2 separate regions of the Homo sapiens genome follow, and region 2 is linked to region 1. Evidence: promoter capture Hi-C in 16 types of primary human blood cells and fetal thymus (Javierre and others, 2016). All regions are on one chromosome and are shown on one strand. The core of a region is centred on a gene start or on the middle of the fragment in contact, and the rest is flanking DNA. Distances in the headings are between cores, read along the strand shown.

Region 1 (4,170 bases), core at 927-3,426:
ATTGCAGCACTATTCACAATAGCGAACATATGGAATCAACCTAAGTGTTCATGAATGGATGAATGGATAAAGAAAATATGAGATATATAGAGAGAGATATATATAGATACATACACACTATATATACACACACTGTATATAGTATAGAGAGTGTATATATATATCCAATGTGATACGCACACACACACACAGTGGCCTATTATTCAGCCACAAAAAGGAATAAAATCCTGTCATTTGCAGAAACATGAATGGAACTGGAGGTTATTGTGTTAAGTGAAATAAATCAAGTAGAGAAAGACAAATATTACATGTTCCTACACATGTTTGGGAGCTTAAAAAGTGGATCTCAGCTGGGCACGGTGGCTCACGCCTGTAATCCCAGCACTTTGGGAGGCCAAGGCAGGCAGATCACCTGAGGTCAGGAGTTTGAGACCAGCCTCGCCAACATGGTGAAACCCCATCTCTACTAAAAATACAAAAATTAGCCGGGTGTGGTGGCACACACCTGTAATCCCAGCTACTCGGGAGGCTGAGGCAGGAGAATCGCTTGAACCTGGGAGGTGGAGTTTGCAGTGAGCCGGAAAAAGAAAAAAAGTGGATCTCACAGAAGTAATGAATAGAATGGTGGTTACCAGAGGCCGGAAAGGGTGGGGGTAGGGGAAGAATAGAGGGTGGCTGATGGGGACAAAAATACAGTTAGGTGGAAGAAATAAGTTCTAGTATTCAATAGCACAGTAGGAAAATTATAGTTAATAATTTACTGTATGTTTCAAAATCGCTAAAAGAGAATTGCAATGTTCCTAACACAAAGAAAAGATAAATGCTTGAGGTGATGGATATCCTAATTACACTGATTCGATCATTACACATTGTATACATGTATCAAAATATCACATGTACCTCCAAAATATCTACAAATATGATATATCAATTCTAAAAATACAAAAAAAAATCATTAAACTATAGGGCATCTAGGTGGTAGAAAATAATGCAACTTAACTGCAGTATGGAAATATGGAGCAGTCTTCAAAATATTAAGTTAAAAAAGAAAAGGAAAGAAAAAAGGAGAAAGGTGTGCTAACAATTGATTATGTCTTTTATGAAAATTATATATATATATATATATATATATATATGTTTTTATCCATGCATAAACTATTAATGGAAGGATTCCCAAGAAACATATTACTGGCTGCCTCTAGTGAAAAGGAAAAAGATTTCAAAGCCCCAAGCATGAGAGTCTTACTTTTCATTGTTTATATTTTTCATTTTATTTTGATTTTTACCATGTATAGATAATATATCTTAAAATAAAATCAAAATTATATTTAAAATTTTAAGACTATTATATCCTTTGTATATATAATTTTTGCATCACTTTTGAAACTCTACTCAAGGAAAACAATATTAAAAGCAAAATACCTGTCAGTAAATTATAGAATAGCCAAATGCAAAAATTTAAAGCAGCAATTAAAATTAACATCACACTTTTTAAATAATATTGTGAAGTCTTTGGTTAATGTATTCATCCATGAAATAAAATTTTTGAGTGCTTATATTACATCTTAACACATACTGCTAAAAGACAAAAACAAGATACAAAATCATCTCTAGATAATGATGTAGACTGTTTAAAAATAAAATAGAAAATTGGAAATAAATCAAATACTAACATTTGTTATCTGTTAGTGATAAGACTGTTGTTAATATATGTGGACATGCTTATTAGACATACAAGTGGTGATGAAAAATAGTTATTCCAACTCTTCTGTTTAGAATTTTTTTGCTTTTTTTGTTATTCCTCTGTGGAATATTTCCAGAAGTCAAATAAAGTTGAGGGTCATTCATGAATAAAAGGAGCTGGTTCATTATTGAGGAGCTCTTACCAAGACACTTAACTTTTTGTTTTGTTTTGTTTTTTAAGACAGGGTCTCACTCTGTTGTCCAGGCTGGGGTGCAGTGGCACAATCTCGGCTCACGGCAACCTCCGCCTCCCAGGTTCAATGATTCTCATGCCTCAGCCTCCCAAGTAGCTGGGATTACAGACAGGCACCACCACACCCAGCTAATTTTTGTATTCTCCGCAGAGATGAGATTTTGCCATGTTAGCCAGGTCAGTCTCGAGCTCCTGACCTCAAATTATCTGCCTGTCTCAGCCTCCCAAAGTGCTGGGATTACAGGCATGAACCACGATGCTCAGCCCCTTAGCTGAACTTTTAAACAGAGATTTCTTCTATTTCAGACAGACACTGAGACTGAGGCACCCATTCCATGGATACCTCCACCAGTGTTACCTATGACTCCAGCCTCCAGATTTCCCAGTTCATCCTGATGGGATTACCAGGCATTCATGAGTGGCAGCACTGGCTCTCCCTGCCCCTGACTCTGCTCTACCTCTTAGCTCTTGGTGCCAATCTCCTCATCATAATCACCATTCAACATGAGACCGTGCTACATGAACCCATGTACCATTTGCTGGGCATATTAGCAGTGGTGGACATTGGCCTGGCCACCACCATCATGCCCAAGATCCTGGCCATCTTCTGGTTTGATGCCAAGGCCATTAGCCTCCCCATGTGTTTTGCTCAGATCTATGCCATCCACTGCTTCTTCTGCATAGAGTCAGGCATCTTTCTCTGCATGGCAGTAGACAGATACATAGCCATCTGTCGCCCTCTTCAGTACCCCTCCATAGTCACTAAAGCTTTTGTCTTCAAAGCCACAGGGTTCATCATGCTCAGGAATGGCCTGTTGACCATCCCAGTGCCTATACTGGCTGCCCAGAGACACTACTGTTCCAGGAATGAAATCGAGCACTGCCTCTGCTCTAACTTGGGGGTTATCAGCCTGGCTTGTGATGACATCACTGTGAACAAATTTTACCAACTGATGCTAGCATGGGTCTTGGTTGGGAGTGATATGGCTCTGGTATTTTCTTCCTATGCTGTAATCCTTCACTCTGTGCTGAGGCTGAACTCAGCAGAAGCAATGTCCAAGGCTCTGAGCACTTGTAGCTCCCACCTCATCCTCATCCTCTTCCACACAGGTATCATTGTGCTGTCTGTCACACACCTTGCAGAGAAAAAGATTCCCCTTATTCCTGTGTTCCTTAATGTGCTGCACAATGTCATCCCCCCTGCACTCAACCCCCTGGCCTGTGCACTCAGGATGCACAAACTCAGACTGGGCTTTCAGAGACTGCTTGGACTGGGTCAGGACGTGTCCAAGTAACTCCAGCTTTAGGAATCCAGTAAGATGTTAGGAAATGACAGAGGTTTTAGTTCTCAATAGATCAGGGTTATAATCTGCACTTACCACACTCCCTAGGAAAAAAATGGCCAATAAAATCATGAAAACTGTCAGCCTCACTAATCAAAATATGTATATTAAAATTACAAGAAAATTTCCTATTACCTGGAAAATAAGTAAGAACAAAAAAGTGAAATGTTTCTAACTATTACTGCTAGCCTACCCCGAGATTAACACTTTCCTACACAACTGGTAGGACTATAAACACACCAAAAAGCAATTTGGTAAAATTTATCAAAATGTTTATAAATGTTTAAATGTTCTTAACCAGTAATTCTATTTTAGAAAAATATCCAAAAGAAATAGTCTAAATGCAGTCAAAAAGTTATTCATAAAAATCATTATAATATGACTAATAATAGAAAACAAAGCCTTTAATATTTACACATATTTAACTCTTACATATTTATGTGCTTTTCATATGTAATTTTTATAATAAAAAGTAAACAATAAATGTTTATTAAAAAGGAGTAAAGTTTAATTTTCGTACCCAAAAAAATCTCAATAATTAATGAATTAATGGTTAACAAGTGTTAAATACTTCTTGTAGGCCAGAAACTTTGATAAAATATGTATGTAGATTATCTGACTCAATTCTCACAATAACCCTTTGGGCAGGTACAATATTATTCCCAATTTCCAGCTAAGAAAACTCAGGCACTGGAAATTATAGAACTTGCCCCCTGACAGCACAGTTTCTAAGTGGGAGAGCTGGGATTCAAGTCCTGGGAAGTCTGATTGAAAAACCATAGCACTATTCTTACTCTCAGTCTTGCTCTGTTCCAAAATTTCTGTGTGAACTTGAACAACTTATGAAACCTCCCTATGTTTCAATTCTTCTGATTAAAAGTGACAAAAATC
Region 2 (4,170 bases), core at 466-2,965, 560 kb before region 1:
AATCTACAACAATCTGTTTTCTTTTTTCAAGTCAATGCCATTAAAGGGGGAAGGGGAATATTAGATAAGGAAAATCCATTTCCAGATTAAAGTACATTTAAGAGAAAAACAAATAAATGCAGTGTGGTTATTTATTTATTTATTTTATTGAGACAGAGTCTCACTCTGTCACCCAGGCTGGAGTGCTGTGGCACGATCTCGGCTCACTGCAACCTCCGCCTCCCCGGTTCAAGCGATTCTCCTGCCTCAGCTTCCCGAGTTGCTGGGATTACAGGCGCCCGCCACCACCCCCAGCTAATTTTTGTATTTTCAGTAGAGACGGGCTTTCACCATGTTGGCCAGGCTGGTCTCGAACTCCTGACCTTAGGTGATCCACCCACCTCAGCCTCCCAAAGTGCTGGGATTACAGGCGTGAGCCACCACGCTCGGCCTGCAGTGTAGTTCTTGATTGAATTCTGTTTAAACAAACCAGGTATTGAATTCAATTAATGAATAGTTAGGGAAACTTAAATATGGACTAGGTATTGAGTGATATAAAGGAACTAGTGTTAATTTTATCAGCAATAATTATGGTATTATGGTAGATACACATACATACTCTCAGGCATCCACAGTATGTTAGCAAAATATTGGCACAGAGCATGTACTCTGGAGCCTCAGAAAGCTAGGTTTCACAATTTAATCCTGGTTCCACAATTTACTAGCTATGTGAATCTGGGCAAGCTATTTAAACTACATGATATTTGGGTTCCTATGTTTTTAAAAGAAATTAATATTTCTAATTTTTATAATTATTATTAGGACAAAATGATACACATTGAAAAAAGAATTTTTTTTTTGAGACAGAGTCTTGCACTGTTGCCCAGGATGGAGTGCAGTGGCACAATCTTGGCTCACTGCAACCTCCACCTCCATGGTTCAAGTGATTCTCCTGTCTCAGACTCCCGAGTAGCTGGGATTACAGGTGCCCGCCACTATGCCTGGCTAATTTCTTTGTATTTTTAGTAGAGACGGGTTTCACTATGTTGGCCAGGCTGGTCTTGAACTCCTGACCTTGTGATCCACCTGCCTCAGCCTCCCAAAGTGCTGGGATTATAGGCGTGAGCCACCACGCCCAGCCGAAAAATATTCTTTAATATAGTACCTGAAACATAGTAAGCATGTAACAAGTTTTACTTCTTTATATTAGGTTATATTTTATATCATTAGTATTATCATTAACAACCAGACCATGCAGTGGAAAAGAGAACAGAAATTGCAAGATGGATAAAAATTAACAGGAGCACCCCTGGGCATACACACATACCAGCACACTTAATTCTACATTTTAAGTTAGAGTTATGGACTCTTGTCACATGTCTGAAACAGAAATTTCCTAACACTGCTAACTGTGGTCATACTTAACGCAGCTGTGTAATTGTCCATCTGTTCTGATCTTTTGATGCTTAACTCAGTGGAGCATATACACAAGTACTGGAGATCAGGACCTCAGTTTATAAATGGGAGTTGCTCAGGAAAGAAAATTATAGTGCCCAGCCCATGGTCCCTAAGAAATAGAGCCCTGGCTTTTCACTCACTTTCTCTAAGTCTTGTCCCAATCAAACCCCTTCAAACAGCCAATACTCACCAAATCTTGGGGATCAGGCCAAAGGGAAAGAAGAAAGAGTGTGTTGACAAAATCTACAAGACAGCAGACACACCAACCAAAAAAAAACATGAGTGGAAGGAAAAGGAAGGACGTTAGAGAGGTTGATTCCCTGTCCATTTATTTTCTCTGATCACTCACTGCTCCTTGTGGGGAAAAGGTAGGTAGTTAGGGGATTAGAGACTCTGACATGCCCTCTTCTCACCCTCAAGGGAAGAAGATGAAAAAGATTCTATTAACCTTGTTCATGCCTTTGAGTTAACACTGCCTTAGAGTGCTTTATTTATTTATTTATTTGTAAGCTGATGTGTATGTGGGTGGAAAGCTGTGTGTATGTGCCTATCATATCACCCAGGTTTCAAGTTCATGCCCTCACTTACCAGATAAAGGACTTTGGATGAGTTACTTAATTTCCATTAAAAGGTGGTCATATTAGTACCTGTCTCTCAAGATTTTATAAGGATTGACAAATTAATAGGATACTGCTAGTGAAAATGCTTAACATATCGGCAAACTTATGGTGTAAAGGAATAACCTAGGGCACCTGTTAAGATGAAAATTATATGGCCCACATGAAATAATTCTAATATTATCTTTTAAAAATTCCAGTGGCTTTAGGGGTACAAGTGTTTTTTGATTACATGGGTGAATTGTATAAGGTTGAAGTCTGGGTTTCTAGCGTACCTGTCACCCATATTGCGTAGATTGTACTCAATAGGTGATGTTTCATCCCTCACCCCTCTCCTAGCTTCTCCTCTTCTGGGTCTCCAATGTCCATTATACTACTATGTGTGCCCTTGCATACCTATAGCTTATCTCCCACTTATAATTTTTAAAACATTAAACTTCATTAAACATTTTTATTGGTAAAAACAATATGAGCAAATAAAATATATTCTTATGGAGAAACTGTTAGGTCTACCAGCTGGTACTGTCAGGAATTTCTGCAAGTCCAGATATCAATTTTTACCTAAGAGGCTTTTACCCAACAATTCTGAAAGCCAAGTCAGTTTTTGTCAATGTTTGTCAAACGTTTGCTAAATATTGTTGAATGTGTTAATTAATAAAGATTGCCAGGAGTCCACTCAGTACTCTGAATGTTCTAGAATATCTGGAATAAACCAGAACTAATGAGATTAGTATTGTATTGGCTCCCAACAGAATTTTTACCTTTCGCTGAATAAAAATTGAGGTTGCTTCACCTCTCTATACTAGGATAAGGGACTGAAGAGTCACATGAACTTGTGTATTCTGTAAGAATGTGATTAATTGCATCACTTACTGCCTATTCTTTAAGAGCTTTCTAAAGATATTTCTCCATTCTTCATATAAGAAGTAGTTTTGCTTCTCTAACAATTAACTGTCTGTAACTTATAGCCATCATGAATTATGTAGCTAATCATGTTTAACTCTCACATAGACTGTTAGAAAGCTTACAGCTCAATTTCTGACCCACATATAATAAGAGAACAAAAATTCATAGCAGGTGGAAAGTGTATTTTCGGCCTATTTTTTGTCTTAATTTTTAAAAATCTTTCTACTTTTCTTTTTGCCTTTTCTATTTATACTTTGTAATATGCCACATAACAATGTTTCTGAACAATTGTCCCATAAGATTACAATACCATATTTTAGAGTACCTTGTCTATGTTTAGACATGTTTAGATGCACAAATACCATTATATTATACTTCCCTACAATATTCGGTATAGTAACATGATGTACAGTTTTGTAGCCTAGGAGCTATAGAATATAATAGAGAGCCAAGGCTGTATCACACAGGTTTGTGTAAGTACACTCTATGATATTTGCACAATAATAAAATCATCTAACAACACATTTATGAGACTCTATCCTCATTGTTAAGTGGGACCTGACTATATTTTTATTTATGGTATGCAAAATACATCAAGTAATTTTGGAAACAATGCATGTAGCTATTGTCACATGTTAAGAGATAGACTATAAATTCAAACACAATTCTCCGAGTCCAAAGGACATTCTTTTCTATTAAAACTATATGTTGAGAGCCATTGTAGAAATAAAAATTCAATGACATGTGAAAAGGGTAGTAGCACGGGGATGGGAAAGTAGTCTCAAGGTAAAGAGACCATGAACAACTCTGATATTTTGAGTCAAGTGAAAGCAGTGAGGGTTTGAACTACTGGGGTAGGGGAGGAGGGTGCCTGCACTCAGCCGGGGAATCCAAGAGGTTATTTAGAAAAAAACCACAGGTTTTGAGGACGTATCAGATTTGAAAGGGAAATAAGACATTGATTATCATTGCTGCCTGGCAGACACCTAAAAATAAGTATTACTGACCAAGTGACTGAATGACTCACTATGACCAAGTTATGCATACTGGATTTGAAGAGACAATGAATCATACAGAGGTACATTTTTGGCTTGTGACTACATCTCTATGGAGATACAAACATGAAAAAAATTGAGACCACCAATGCTTCCAATTGGTCAAGTCTTAAACCCACTTCTTAGTCTGTACGTGCTTTACCATTTTACTAGCC

Evidence for each region. Contacts are between HindIII fragments. The CHiCAGO score rates a contact against its expected background, and 5 or more counts as called.
Region 2: the fragment with the promoter of OR52H1 here is called in contact with the fragment with the promoter of OR56B4 in region 1 in 4 of 17 cell types (naive CD8 T cells, neutrophils, total CD8 T cells and 1 more); the score reaches 7.7 in naive CD8 T cells.

Annotation. Positions count from the first base shown.
Region 1 is chr11:6,105,508-6,109,677 of GRCh38, forward strand. OR56B4 (olfactory receptor family 56 subfamily B member 4) reads left to right here and starts at 2,177. Exons shown (of 1, transcript NM_001005181.2): 1 at 2,177-3,328. The coding sequence starts at 2,272. The coding sequence ends at 3,231. All of the region lies in intron 2 of LOC124902622 (a long non-coding RNA gene), which reads right to left. The HindIII fragment of the contact is 4,106 bases long and covers 1-2,702 here.
Region 2 is chr11:5,546,825-5,550,994 of GRCh38, forward strand. OR52H1 (olfactory receptor family 52 subfamily H member 1) reads right to left here and starts at 1,716. Exons shown (of 2, transcript NM_001005289.5): 1 at 1,628-1,716. The HindIII fragment of the contact is 4,857 bases long and covers 1-3,075 here.